3 separate regions of the Homo sapiens genome follow, and all the other regions are linked to region 3. The links are contacts of gene promoters, found by promoter capture Hi-C in blood cells and fetal thymus (Javierre and others, 2016). All regions are on one chromosome and are shown on one strand. The core of a region is centred on a gene start or on the middle of the fragment in contact, and the rest is flanking DNA. Distances in the headings are between cores, read along the strand shown. Region 1 overlaps SEC11A (SEC11 homolog A, signal peptidase complex subunit). Region 2 overlaps SEC11A (SEC11 homolog A, signal peptidase complex subunit). Region 3 holds the start of SLC28A1 (solute carrier family 28 member 1).

Evidence for each region. Contacts are between HindIII fragments. The CHiCAGO score rates a contact against its expected background, and 5 or more counts as called.
Region 1: a fragment that was not itself captured here is called in contact with the fragment with the promoter of SLC28A1 in region 3 in 2 of 17 cell types (M0 macrophages and M2 macrophages); the score reaches 5.5 in M0 macrophages.
Region 2: a fragment that was not itself captured here is called in contact with the fragment with the promoter of SLC28A1 in region 3 in 2 of 17 cell types (M1 macrophages and M0 macrophages); the score reaches 6.1 in M1 macrophages.

The regions. Positions count from the first base shown.
Region 1 is chr15:84,694,936-84,699,972 of GRCh38, reverse strand. The region is part of intron 1 of SEC11A (SEC11 homolog A, signal peptidase complex subunit); the gene reads left to right. Among named protein-coding and RNA genes, the nearest start is that of SEC11A, 19 kb to the left of the region's middle. The HindIII fragment of the contact is 7,601 bases long and covers 1-5,037 here.
Region 2 is chr15:84,672,594-84,677,455 of GRCh38, reverse strand. All of the region lies in intron 4 of SEC11A (SEC11 homolog A, signal peptidase complex subunit), which reads left to right. Among named protein-coding and RNA genes, the nearest start is that of NMB, 17 kb to the right of the region's middle. The HindIII fragment of the contact is 9,766 bases long and covers 1-4,862 here.
Region 3 is chr15:84,882,203-84,886,654 of GRCh38, reverse strand. SLC28A1 (solute carrier family 28 member 1) reads right to left here and starts at 1,993. Exons shown (of 19, transcript NM_004213.5): 1 at 1,904-1,993. RefSeq lists enhancers at 1,913-2,413, 2,414-2,914. The HindIII fragment of the contact is 20,311 bases long and covers 1-4,452 here.

The DNA of each region.
Region 1 (5,037 bases), core at 2,466-4,965, 190 kb after region 3:
AGCCCCGTGAAGATTTCCACTCTGTCTGGTGGAAACAAACTATTCTTACGCCATAAGAGCTGTGAGAATTGTTCCATCCGCTGCTTTTAGATGGTTGTTTTTCCATCCTCAGGAGTCCCCTCACATGCATGCACTGATCATTGCTTTTGCCTCCCTGAACTCCCAGTTCTTTTTTTTGTGTGTGTGTGTCTTTGTTTTTTTCTTTTTCCGTGGAGAACGGGGATCTTGCTGTATTGCCCAGGCAGGTCTTGAACTCCTGGGCTCAAGCTATCCTCCTGCCTCTGCCTCCCTAAGAGCTGGGATTACAGGCATGAGCCACCGTGCCTGGCTGAACTCCCCAGTTCTTTATCCTCAAGTCAGGGAGACTGCTAGGCTCTGTCTGCATTTCTCCTTTGCCCTGTGGTCTGGAAATTCTCCGATCTATAAGTTGAGGCAGTTGTAGGTCTCACCTTCTTTGTTTCCCCTTTCTAAGTAATCACAGTCCTTACTACCTGAACACAGTCATATAGCCAATGTCCGAAAACCCTTGTTTCATATATTTTGTCCAGTGTTTTAGTTATTTCAGGCAGGAAGGTAAATTTGGTCTCTTTAACTCATTTTGGCTAGAACAGCATATTTTGTTTTTTTTGTTTCCTGGTTTTTTTTTTTTTTTTTTTGGAGACAAGAGTCTTGCTCTGTTGCCCAGGCTGGAGTGCAGTGGTGTGATCTCAGCTCACTGCAACCTCTGCCTCCCAGGTTCAAGTCATCCTCCCACCTCAACCTCCCGAGCAGCTGGGACCACAGGCACGTGCCACCACGCCTGGCTAAATTTTGTATTTTTGGTAGAGATGGGGTTTCGCCATGTTGGCCAGGCTGGTCTCAAACTCCTGGCCTCAAGTGATCTGCCCTCCTTGGCCTCGCAAAGTGCTGGGAGTATAGGCATGAGCCACCACTCCTGGCCAGGACAGCATATTTTGGAAATTCACCTATGTTGCATGTGTCAATAGTTAATTCCTTTGTATTCCTGAGTAGTATTCCATTTTGTGGAAATACTACGATTTATGTACGGGTTGAGTATCTGTTATCTGAAATGCTTGGGGCCAGAAGTATTTTGGACTTTTTTTTTATTTTGGAATACTTCTATTTGCATTTTACCGGTTGAACATCCCAAATCTGAAATATCCAAAATCCAAAATGTTCCAGTGAGCCTGAATTCATCTGTTGATGGGCATTTGAGTTATTTCCGGTTTGAGGCTATTATGAGGGAAGCTGCTGTACATGTGTTTGTATATGTTAAATGTGTTTTCACTTGTCAGATTTTAAAAGATTTAACAGATTTTTAAAGTGAAAATTGTTTTAATGATGGTATGCTTATTTAGACTATTAGGAATTTAAAAAATTATCATTTAAGATTCATTCCAGGTCCTGCATTGATTTTATTGGGTCACAATAATAGTGTCCATTTGAAGATATTTCAATTTTTTCAGCACCGTCAATTTCACTTCTAGCTGCTATCAGTATACCTTCTGTAATATCTAGCTTCTGATTTCTCCTTTCATGAGTTAGAAAGCAGGAGAATTGTGATTATGGATTAATGAGTCCCTTAATTTGAGGTCTTAAGATAAATGGAATTTAAGACTTAGGCCAACTGCTATTTTGTAGCTCTAAGACACATTTTTGCTTCTGATTTCTATGAACATATCTTATATGTTGAACTTCAAATATCTCTTACAAGAATAGGAAGCACAATGGTGTATTTGATCATTGTGATCAGTAAATACACAGGATGTAGCTTCTAGATGGTAGCCCATTAAATTATAGTATTTAAAATTATTATCAACTTTTATCTTGCTGAATTTTCTGTGTTAGGTTTTTCTTAATTTCTTATTATATATTACTTAGAGTGGATTATAAATTGTCTTGTGGCTTATTCTAGTCACAGGAGTTTGGGGGAAGGCTCTACACAATACTTCCTAAAAAGAAAAAAAAGAATAGTAAACACAAATCCCTATATCACAGCTGCTGAGAGATATTATATAGAACTTTGATATCATTCTTTTCTAGTTTCACCTTGAGCATTGAAGAAATATTGTTCTGGTCATTTCTTAGAAAAAATAATAAGGCTATTCAATTCTGTGGTTATTATTCTACATATGTTGCAATGTCTTTATTAATAGTTAGCTTGATGTGGTCAGATATGAGGTTAGGTAGCTGCCACCTTATTTCTGCCAATACAGAAAGAGGCAACACTTTTTTTCCAATTATATACATTCCTAAGCATTCAGACATAGTGATAAAGAAAGTAGGGGCTAGGGAGGCAATATGTTTGACGTTTGAGTAAAGACTGTTGGCAGGAAAAGAGAGGGTAAAAAGAAAGGGAGAAGAGTATGACACTTTTCAATCTTTTGCTCAGATACAATGTTTGTTTTAGCAAATAGTGTGCTTCTGTCTAGGTTTTGGCTTGCAGATTGACTTAGCAGTATACAAATAGGTACCTTTTAAGGAACATACCAGTTATACATAATCAGGAACTTTAACCTCTTTCTCTAATAAAAATGAGGAAGATGATCTTGATGATTAGCTACATTTCACAATAATAATTCCATAATAAAAGTATTATATGTCTGAGAAAAAGGAGAAGGATAATTATGGCTGGGATAGTGACCTTTCTTGCAAGAACATAGGAAATTATATATTTTAACTTGTTCATTTTTATTGTATTATTATTTTTTGAGACAAGATCTCACACTGTTACCCATGCTAGAATGCAGTGGTGCTGTCACAGCTCACTACAGCCTCAACCTCCTGGGCTCAAGCAATCCTCCTACCTCAGCTTCTTAAGTAGTTGGGACTACAGGTGTGTGCCACCACACTCAGCTAATTAATTTTTTTTTTTTAAGAGACAGGGTCTTGCTATGTTGCCTTGGCTGGCACTTTTTTTTTTCTTAATTTTTAAATTTTGTTATTTTTTTTTTAGAGATAGGGATCTCACTATGTTGCCCAGGCTGAACTCGAACTCCTGGGCTCAAGCAGTCCTCCCACCTTGACCTCCCAAAGTGCTGGGATTATAGGCATAAGCCATTGCACCCGGTGGGCATTTTTCTTTTAAATAGCAGTTATCTTATTAAATGTCTAATTAGGTAACTTCTGCAACTCTATAACCGAGCCCTTTTGAAAATGGAAATTTTTTTTCCCCAACAAAATAGACGTGAACTGTGGGTTTTTGTTTTGTTTTGTTTTTAGTTTTTATTTACTTCAGTGTGAATTTTTGTTTTGCTGCCAAAATCTTAATGTGTTTGATATTGGGATATTGCCATAAACCCTGCTAAGAGTATATGTAACATAGGGTACATGCAAGTATTACCTTTTCAAAATCACACCCATTCTGAATCCTGGAACACATCTGACCCCCAAGGGTTTTGAGTAAGGGATTATGGAGCTATATACATTGTAGAATCCTACAACCCCTTCCTCAGAGGTTCTGAATTAGGGCCCAGAATCTATTGTCCTAACCAGTACTGTAGGTGATATTTTTAGTGCAGAAAGTTGGAAATTTGAGTCTTAACTGAATTCCTCACTGTTTATCTTCTGGTTGACATAATTGTGTCTTAGAAGCTAGTTTTCCTACTTCTATCATGTCCCACTCCACGTCTTCAATTCAGCCTTCAGAATAAGAAGACCCATTTTGTCTTTTAAAAAGCCACCATCTTGAAAACATAGAATTTAGGAGGCCAGAGTTCTAATAGTGCTACTCTGCCAGCCAGTAGACAAGCAGCCATGAGCATGTCGCTTAGCTTCTCTGTGCCTCAGTTTCCTTACCTGTAAATGTGAGTGTCAAAGTAGGTTTCAGATTATCCATGTGCTCACATCACTCTATTACTGAAAGAACAGCAAATATTTCTAATTGTCTCGGCGAAAATGTTCATATTTCCTTTTGTGGAAATTGATTAATTACATTGATTGAGTACACCGTGCTTCATTGGAATGCTAGAAGAATAGTGTTCTGGCCATTAGCGTGGACTTAAAAAAATAAACCAAAACAGTTTAGTTTTGAACAGGTGATACTTGCATATAGTAAAAACTGTAAAAACATGAAGTATGTATATCAGAAAATATTTTTCTTCCACCTTGACTCCTGGTTCCTTTTCTCCAGTTTCTTGTCTGTCTTTTCAGAGATTAACTGTGCATTTATAAGAATATGAAACTTGATCGCTTCTCGGCCTTTTGGCTAAGATCAAGTGTGAAGAATATGAAACTTGAAATGTTTTTAAAAAGTATGCAGGAAAAACAGGTTAATTGTAGGGAGAAAATAGAAAATGGTACAAGAGAGCTGGATTCCTCATCACAATTGTATTTATTTTTTGAGACACAGTCTTGCTCTGGCACCTGGGCTAGAATGCAGTGGGGCAATCATAGCTCACTGCAGCCTTTACGTCCTGGGTTCAAGTGATTCTCCTGCCTCAGCCTCCAAGGAGCTGGGACTACAGGCATGCACCACCACACCCAGCTAATTTTTCTTTTTTTTTTTTTGAGACGGAGTTTCGCCCTTGTTGCCCAGGCTGGAGTGCAATGGTGCGATCTCGGCCCACTGCAACCTCCGCCTCCCAGGTTCAAGCGATTCTCCCACCTCAGCCTCCCGAGTATCTGAGATTACAGGCATGTGCCACCAAGCCCAGCTAATTTTGTATTTTTAGTAGACATGGGGGTTTCTCCATGTTGGGCAGGCTAGTCTCGAACTCCCAACCTCAGGTGATCTGCTCGCCTTGGCCTCCCAAAGTGCTGGGATTACATGCGTGAGCCACCGAGCCCAGCCTCTGGATATTTTTTTTTAATCATCCGCATCTCTATTTAGTGTGCTAAATTTTCCTCTACCTTCTTTTTTTTTTTTTTTTTTTTTTTTTTTTTAGATGGAGTCTTGCTGTGTCGCCCAGGCTGGAATGCAATGGTGCGATCTCAGCTCACTGCAACCTCTACCTCCCGGGTTCAAGCAATTCTCCTGCCTCAGCCTCCCGAGTAGCTGGAATTACAGGCACACGCCACTGCGCCTGGCTAATTTTT
Region 2 (4,862 bases), core at 1,626-4,125, 210 kb after region 3:
CCACACTATTTAATGCTATTTTTAAAATCCCAACATAGAAACTATAGACCATTTTGAGCTGTTACTTAAAAAAATGTAATAGTCTAGTACTCTCTGCATTAAGGAAGTTTCTGTAGAAAAAAAAAACCTAAGACATGAACAGCAGAAGCACAGAATCTTAACTATATAAATTTACTTTCCATTGATTGTACCTCTACTGAGCTTGACACGTAATGGAACATAACACTTTCTTTTGTGGAAATTGTGTTTATAAAACACTAAACTGGTATTTCAAAGTCAGGATGTACACAAATCTTAAGAATAGAGCTTTTCCACAGGCAAGTCTGTTACTGTAGTACATACGTCTTCATGCTTTTTTTTTTCTTGAGACAGAGTCTCACTCTATCACCCAGGCTGGAGTGCAGTGGCAGAATCATGGCTCACTGCAACCTCCACCTCCCAGGCCCAAGCAATCCTCCCACCTCAGCCTTCTCAGTAGCTAGGATCACAGGTGCATGCTATCACACCTGGCTAATTTTTTTAATTTTTGTAGAGATTGGCTCTCCTTGTGTTGCCCAGGCTGGTCTTGAACTCCTGGGCTCAAGCAGTCCTCCACCTTGGCCTCCCAAAGTCCTGGGGTTACAGGTGTGAGCCACTGTGCCTGGCTTCCTTTATGCTTTTTTTTTTTTTGAGATGGAGTTTTGCTCTTGTTGCCCAAGCTGGAGTGCAATGGTGCTATCTTAGCTCACTGCAACCTCTGCCTCCCAGGTTCAAGGGATTCTCCTGCCTCAGCTTCCTGAGTAGCTGGGATTACAGCTTCCTGAGTAGCTGGGATTAGCCATGCCCAGCTAATTTTTTGTATTTTCAGTAGAAACAGGGTTTCACCATGTTAGCCAGGCGGTCTCGAACTCCTGACATCAGGTGATCTGCCCGCCTCGGCCTCCCAAAGTGCTGGGATTACAGATGTGAGCCACTGCACTCCGCCTCCTTTATGCATTAAAAAAAAAAAAAATTTTTTTTTTTTTGAGACAGAGTTTCACTCTTGTTGCCCATGCAACAGCATGATCACGGCAACCCCCACCTCCCAGGTTCAAACAATTCTCCTGCCTCAGCCTCCCAATTAGCTGGGATTACAGGCATGTGCCACCATGCCCACCTAATTTTTTGTATTTTTAGTAGAGATGGAGTTTCACCATGTTGGCCAGGCTGGTCTCTCTCTTTTTTTTTAACAGCTGCACACTAAAAAAATTTTATGTTGAGGCCTAAGGCTCTAAATTAAAATAATTTAAAAAAACTTTTATTGAGATATAATTCACATATATTAGAATATAAAATTCACCATCTTAAAGAGTACAATTCAGTGGGTTTCAGTATATTCACAAGATTGTGCAACCATCACCACTATCTAATTCCAGAACATTTCTATCACCCCAAAAATAAAACTCAGTACTCATTAGCAGTCACTCCCCATCCTCTACTTCCTGTAGCCTCGGACAGCCACTAATCTGCTTTCTGTCTTTGTGCATTTCCCTATTCTGGACTTTTCATATAAGCAGAATCATACAATGCGTAGTCTTTTGTGTCCAGCTTCTTTCACCTAGCATAATGTTTTTAAGGCTTATTCATGTCGTAGCATGTAATAAAAACAATTTTAGAAAATGAAACTAATACTGAACCAATTAAGTATTAATAAAGGTGATTTCTTTCTAAACTCAGGAAGTTGAAAAATTCAAGAGCACCCATTAGTTAAGAAGGAATAGAAAGCAGCAGGTGAAAAGGGTGAAAGATTGGCAGAGGATCGGGGAACAGAAATGTTGAAAATGGAAAGAAGAATTAAAAATATATAAGGAAGGAGTAGAGTAATTGAGCTCTCTGTTAACTGAAATCAGTTTTATGGATAAGACTTTTTGAATGTACTTCTTACTTGAAACAAGTCATTCTAGAAACAAGATGATCCTTTTCTGGTCATCGCATATTCTCTTACTCTCTCATTTAGTTGCTGCTGGATTTCAGACTTCCCAGATATAGACCCCTTTTGATATTTGACAGAATTGTGCTGGGGTCTCTTCTTAATTTTTGTGGCATCTTTTCTTTACTGTTTGTTTGGCCTTTTGTCTAATGATCTCTATGAGCATCAGGAGACAGTGCTTTCTTCTGAGGCTACTTCCTCAGCAGTACCTTTGATCCCAAGAATTCCCACGGAAATGTATTTAACTATATGAAATGCATTTTACCTTCTAGATATTAACTTGGCACAGGCTAGTGTTGGAGTTGGCTTTGTGGATGGCATTCATTTTACTTACTTTAAACCTCCTGCTTATTAGCAACTCTGCTTTAGCACATGAGTTTATCTGAGCAAAATAGGCAAAAAGTGCAAATGGTTTGAATTTAAGATGACTGATGATAGCAGCATTATACACTTGATTATCAGCTCTTTGCTTATCTCTGTCCATGGAGGGTAACAGTGGTACAGACAATTAAATCTTTTGTTTGACTTTGAACTGCCTCGTCATATTCTGGGATCCTTAGATCTTGCTTATATTACTCCTAAAGACCAAGTTGCTTTCATTTCACTTACAGTGGGCAAAGAAAAGCCAACCTTTAAAAAAAAGTTTCAGGTTGTGTGTGGTGGCTCACGCTTGTAATCTCAGCACTTTAAGAGGCCAAGATGGGAGAACCGCTGGAGCCCAGGAGTTTGAGACCAGCCTGAGCAAGGTAGTGAGATGCTGTCTCTACAAAAAAATTTAAAAATTAGCCAGGCATGGTGGCGTGCACTTGTAGTCCCAGCTCCTTGGGAGGCTGAGGTGGGAGGATTGCTTGAGCCCAGGAGTTCAAGGCTGTAGTGAGCTATGATCACACCACTGCATTCTAGCCTGGGTGCCAGAGTAAGATCATGTATCAAAAAAAAAATTTTTTTTTTTAAATTCCATGGATTATTCACAAGCAGGCTATGTGATTGCTGGGAGCTGAGGATTGTGGTTCTTTGGGCATAGATATCATTGCATGGAGGTAACAGAGTCTCTGTGTATTAGAATGGCTGCTTATTGATCATCAGATCAGAATTAGCAGCTTAATGTTTTAGTAGAAATCACAGATGCTTTTATAGCTCTTAATCTGTACTTTACTGTGAGGCATTTGCCTTTATGTTCTTAAATTAGGTGATTTACTGAAAGCTATTGCTTTTATGGAAGTGTTAAAAATGAGACAAAAGAAATAACAGTTACTGCATTAAAAAGGAAAAATAATATATATATATAAATATATATAAAATGTAGAAAACCTCTATCCATCCTCTTAGAGCTTAGCCGTGCCATTCTTTAACGACTGTTACTTTTCAGCTCTTGGAGATCCCAGGGGTTGAGATGAAAGCATGAACCCTAAGAAGGGATATTATTTGCCATCACACACCTATATGTGCATCTCACACTAAAATTGTACTTCTTGAATTTTGATGTACAGGAGCGTTATTTGGGCCCCACCTTTCAGAAATTCCCTGGCTTAGTTGGTCTGGGAAAGATACAAGAATCTGCATTTTTATTTATTTTTTTTATTTTTTATTTTTATTTTTTGAGACAGAGTCTCACCCTGTCGCCAGGCTGGCATGTAGTGGCACAATCTCGGCTCAGTGCAACCTCCACCTCCCGGGTTCAAGCGATTCTGCTGCCACAACCTCCTGAGTAGCTGGGATTACAGGCGTGCACCACCATGCCCAGCTAATTTTTATATTTTTAGTAGTGACAGGGTTTCACCATGTTGGTCAGGATGGTCTCGATCTCCTGACCTCATGATCCACCCGCCTCAGCCTCCCAAAGTGCTGGGATTACAGGCGTGAGCCACCGTGCCCAGCCAAGAATCTGCATTTTTAACAAGCCATCAAGCGGTTGTGACAGAGGAGGTCTAGGCTTTAAGAAACACCAGTGTATGGAATGGGAGTTTGGGGATGGGGCAAGAGAGACAGGTCTCAGTGATCCTGCTAGAAGGGAGAGGACAGAGAGGGGTGAAGACAAGAGACAGGAAGTGAGGGGAGTTCTTTTTTTTTTTTTTTTCCCAAGGCAGAAGAATTTTTCTTAGTACAGAACAAAATGAAAAGTCTCCCATGTCTACTTCTTTCTACACAGACACGGCAACCATCCGATTTCTCAATCTTTTCCCCACCTTTCCGCCCTTTCTATTCCACAAAACCGCCATTGTCATCATGGCCCGTTCTCAATGAGCTGTTGGGTACTCCTCCCAGACCGGGTGGTGGCCGGGCAGAGGGGCTCCTCACTTCCCAGTAGGGGCGGCCGGGCAGAGGCGCCCCTCACCTCCCGGACGGGGCGGCTGGCCTGGCGGGGGCTGACCCCCACCTCCCTCCCGGACGGGGTGGCTGCTGGGCGGAGACGCTCCTCACTTCCCAGACGGGGTGGCTGCCGGACGGAGGGGCTCCTCACTTCTCAGATGGGGTGGCTGCCGGGCGGAGGGACTCCTCACTTCTCAGAGGGGGCGGTTGCCAGGCAGAGGGTCTCCTCACTTCTCAGACGGGGCGGCCGGGCAGAGACGCTCCTCACCTCCCAGACAGGGTCGCGGCCGGGCAGAGGCGCTCCTCACATCCCAGACGGGGCGGCGGGGCAGAGGCGCTTCCCACATCTCAGACGATGGGCGGCCAGGCAGAGACGCTCCTCATTTCCTAGATGGGATGGCGGCCGGGCAGAGACGGTCCTCACTTTCCAGACTGGGCAGCCAGGCAGAGGGGCTCCTCACATCCCAGACGATGGGCAGCCAGGCAGAGACGCTCCTCACTTCCCAGACGGGGTGGCGGCCGGGCAGAGGCTGCAATCTCGGCTCTTTGGGAGGCCAAGGCAGGCGGCTGGGAGGTGGTTGTAGCGAGCCGAGATCATGCCACT
Region 3 (4,452 bases), core at 744-3,243:
TCGGAGTAGGTTGGGCCTGCCACCCAGTTCTGCCCAGCGCCTCCCCAGAGGCCAGGGCCACAGCCAGGGTGGGGACCCCAACACGGTCTCAGGGATACAGGAAGCAGGCCCACTTGCAACCTGGCTCCCTGCAGCTCCTGCCCACTGGCTGCTGCTTCTCCATCAGAGATGCCCTCCTCTGCCCTCTCCCCAGTTCCCAAACTGACCTCTTCCAGGCCTATTAGGGCCGCTTCTTCCAGGAAGCCACCTATGTGATTATTTCCCTCCCCCTCCTTCCTTCCCATGGCCTCCTTTCCCCAGCCAGGCTGTTAGCTTTTTGCATTTTATCTTTCATTTTGCATCTTTCTCTATCTCCCTTTCTCACTAGATGGGGATTTATTATAACAGCAACCAATTTTCCTGTGCTGGAAAATGAGGAAAGCAGTGTAGCTGTGAGAAATAGTAAAAGTGTTTCAGGTCTGTCAAGAAAACAAAACCAAATCACACCATTTCCCCTTCATTTCATCTTTGTTAAATGAATACCTAAGCCAACGGTGTGCAAAGCGAAGGGCTGAATGCTTTAGTTTTCCAGTCCTCACACTAAACATTAAACTCATCTGACGGGATTCACAACATCTCTTTAATAATTAATGGTACGCGCTCAGGACAAAATCCTCTATGATGCATAAATACTTGCTAGTACCGGCACCTCCTGGTTGTTTTGGAAGTTTGGAGAGGATGGTGGATGGACACCCCCTCTTTTTGAAAACATTTTTTCTTCATCTGTCATTTGAATTACCAAAGCATTACAAGTGTATCATTAAACATTTAAACATTAGAGAAATATACAGAATGAGGGAAGTTAAAGTCCCCGGAATCTGAGCCCTCAGGGATGACCACTATTGAGTTTGTGTGGCATTTTCCTCCTTTTTTTTTTTTTTTTTGAGACGGAGTTTCACTCTTGTTGCCCAGGCTGGAGTACAGTGGTGCGAGCTCGGTTCACTGCAACCTCCGCCTCCCAAGTTCAAGCGATTCTCCTGCCTCAGCCTCCCAAGTAGCTGTGATTACAGGCATGCGCCACCACACCTGGCTAATTTTGTATTTTTAGTAGAGATGGGGTTTCTCCATGTTGGTCAGGCTGGTCTCGAACTTCCAACCTCAGGTGGTCCACCCACCTTGGCCTCCCAAAGTGCTGGGATTACAGGCATGAGCCACCGCGCCTGGCCTTTTCTCCACTTTTTTTTTCCTAAATGTATGTTATTTTATGTTATTCATTTTCCAATAGGGGATCACACAGTAACAGTGTTCTCATAATTTGATTTTTCTAGCAGAGTTCCGCACACTGTTGAGAGCCCATGTGTTACCTTGATTGAAAACTAGCCACAGAGCAAGACTCTACCTTTAAAAAAAAAAAAGAGGGGGGGCACGGTGGCTCATGCCTGCACTCCCAGCACTTTGGGAGGCCAAGGTGGGCAGATCACTTGAAGCCAGGAGTTCGAGACCAGCCTGGCCAACATGGTGAAACCCCGTCTCTACTAAAAATACAAAAATTAGCCAGGCATGGTGGCAGGTGCCTGTAGTCCCAGCTACTCGGGAGGCTGAGGCAGGAGAATTGCTTGAACCCGAGAGGTGGAGGCTGCAGTGAGCAGAGATCACACCACTGCACTCCAGCCTCGGCAACAGAGCGAGACTCTACCTCAAAAACAGAAAAGAAACAAAAACTAAATGCCTCTGAGCAGCACTACTGTCTCCATGGGTGGCCACCACAGGGATGGGCCTGGAGCTGTCCTCGAAGGGGTCTTCGCCAAGCCCTAGTGAAGAAAAAAAGGACGCTACCTGCTTTTCCACTTTGCCCTGTGCTACCCCCTTCCCCTCCTTTCTTCAGTCCCGCCTTCCCTCCTCTCCTACTGTCCTTTTCTCTCACCCTTGTTTCTGTCAGCATCCAGAGGGAAGCCAGGAACACAACACATCCAGCAGCAACCATGCAGTGCAGCTTATAACCTTCACATCGTTGTGGGCCCTAATCTCTACAACAAGGATTTAATGGGCTGTGTGTCTTGGGGTGGACCTTGAGCTTGGAGCCCAAAGGTCTCCACTCCTGACTGCCAAAGTTAACTTGCTGCCTCATCTGGTGGTGGGTAATAGAGCACATGAGGAGTCAGCGTGCTCCTGCTTAGGAAGTACCTGGCAGGGAGTCAAGCGGCATCAGGCTGGCAGGTGTCATTGCTGTCACAGGTCCCATCCGGGGTGTCCTGACACACTGCTCCCCTCCTCCAGGCCAGGAGACTCCGGGCTTCTCCCCTGCTCCTCCTCTCAAGGAGGCATGGCCAGCAGGGATCCCAGACCCCAGAAGCCAAGCGGTCTTTTCAGGTGGAATGTGGCAAAAAGCCACAGGCTGGGGAGTTGGGAGGCTGGATAGATTGGGGTGGAGACCCCAGGGAAAGACCAACAGCTGGAGGACCTCAGGTGTCCCGGCTGTGCCCCTCCAGCTGTGGGACCTCAGCATGTCCTTGGGCTTCTTGGTGGCCTGTTTCCTAAGGAGACAGCCTCTGAGGCCCGGCACACCCGCAGACGCCCGCTGAGTGAGACCTAGAGCTGAGCCAGGCCAGGGCAGAGTGGGGAGAGGACCACATAAATATACATAGATAATTTCCCTCACCATCCAGCAGAGCTCAGAAGGGTTGACAGTAAAGGGGCTGCTCCACCCCTCCAACTCTATCCCATTCCTCAGAGGCAACCACCTAACTTTTCTGGTTTTAGTTCTTCTGCAGGCCACCTCCTGTTTTAGGGAATTATTAGTCAAAGAGTTGGAGAGGATCCCTTCTCGCCAGGCTCTGACATAATAGGTTATTTTATAAGTAGTGAGTGAAACATTCAAAAAGCACAAGAACTGTCAGAAGAGTTGCTCAGCAATCTCTTTATTTTCTTCTCATGATTCTGCCCACACTCATTTCTTAGCTCTTCACAGGCGAGGTCTCTTTCATTGCATCGATTCGTGTATCCAAGCACTGGACAAATAAAGAGGCTTATCACTCGTCAAGTTCCATGAACATGACCTCATCATTCTTCTCTCCTAAACCTGGGATGATTGGCAGAAAGGGCATCCATACAACTTTTTCTTCTGCATTTGGCATTGAAAAATGGACTTCCCGTAGTCTGTAGTAGAAATATTGGAAAGTAGCAATAATCCTAGCACTTTGGGAGGCCAAGGCAGGTAGATCGCTTGAGCCCAGGACTTCAAGACCAGCCTGGGCAACACAGGGAGACCCTGTCTCTACAAAAAATAGAAAAAATTAGACAGGTGTGGTGGCGTGCACCTGTAATCCCAGCTACTCAGGAGGCTGAGGTGGGAGGATCATTTAAGCCTGGGAAGTCAAGGCTGCAGTGAACCATAATCACACCACTGCACTCCAGCCTGGGCGACAGGAGTGAGACCCTGTAAAAAAAAAAATTGATGACATAGAGCTAAATACAAAGACTAAAGAAATATCTTGGGCTTTTATACTCTTTGCTTGTGACTCTTCTAGTTTTCCTGTGGGAACGGACTAGCCCAAGTGTTAGAGCACACTGCTCTCCCGGCAACTACAGAGCTAGTTCAGCTGGTCCCAGGGGAAGAAAGCATTCCAGTACCCCAAAGGCTGGAAGCCCCCAGCCTGCTTGGCATGATTATCCAACGGTTTCCGATATAGTTTACTCCTTGACCCACTCTACTCACTGAGAACATCTGGGCACATGTGGTCATCATCCAATACAAAATGGAAGGCCGAGTCTGGGGCTCATCTACGGCAGCAACAAGAGGCCTGGTAGAATTAGGATGCCGGGTCCCACCTGCAGGAGTGCTTAAGGCCACCAGGCAGGGCGAATTTTACCCAAGCAGTTCAGAGCTCACTGTTCCCAAATATTTAATATTTAATTGATTGTACTTAAAAAGTGTATTTCCCTTGTTGTTCTTTTTACCTTCTATTCCTCTTGCCTCTCCAGCTCATATTAGCATTTTATTTATTCATTTATTTTTTTGAGACAGGGTCTCACTCTGTCTCCCTGGCTGGCGTGCAGTGGCGCAATCTCAGCTCACTACAGCCTCGACCTCCCACCAATCCTCCCACCTCAGCCTCCAGAGTAGTTGGGACTACAGATGTGCACCATACGCCAGCTAATTTTTTTTTCTTTTTTAAAAAATTTCATCCTGGTTGTTCTAATATTTATTTATTTACCTATTTTGTAGAGACAGGGTCTTACCATGTTGCCCAGGTCTAGAACTCCTGGGCTCAAGTGATCCTCCTGCCCCGGTCTCCCAAAGTGCTGGGATTACAAGTGTGAGCCACTGTGCCCAGCCTCATATCAGCTTTTCATATAGTGAGAAATTGAGATAGTTCCTTTTCAGTTTGATCCAGATCAAGATGTTCTGCAAACCAAGGGTCTTAATTCATGTTATGCTATTGGGTTCAGGGGTGATGTCCCTGTCTATTATAG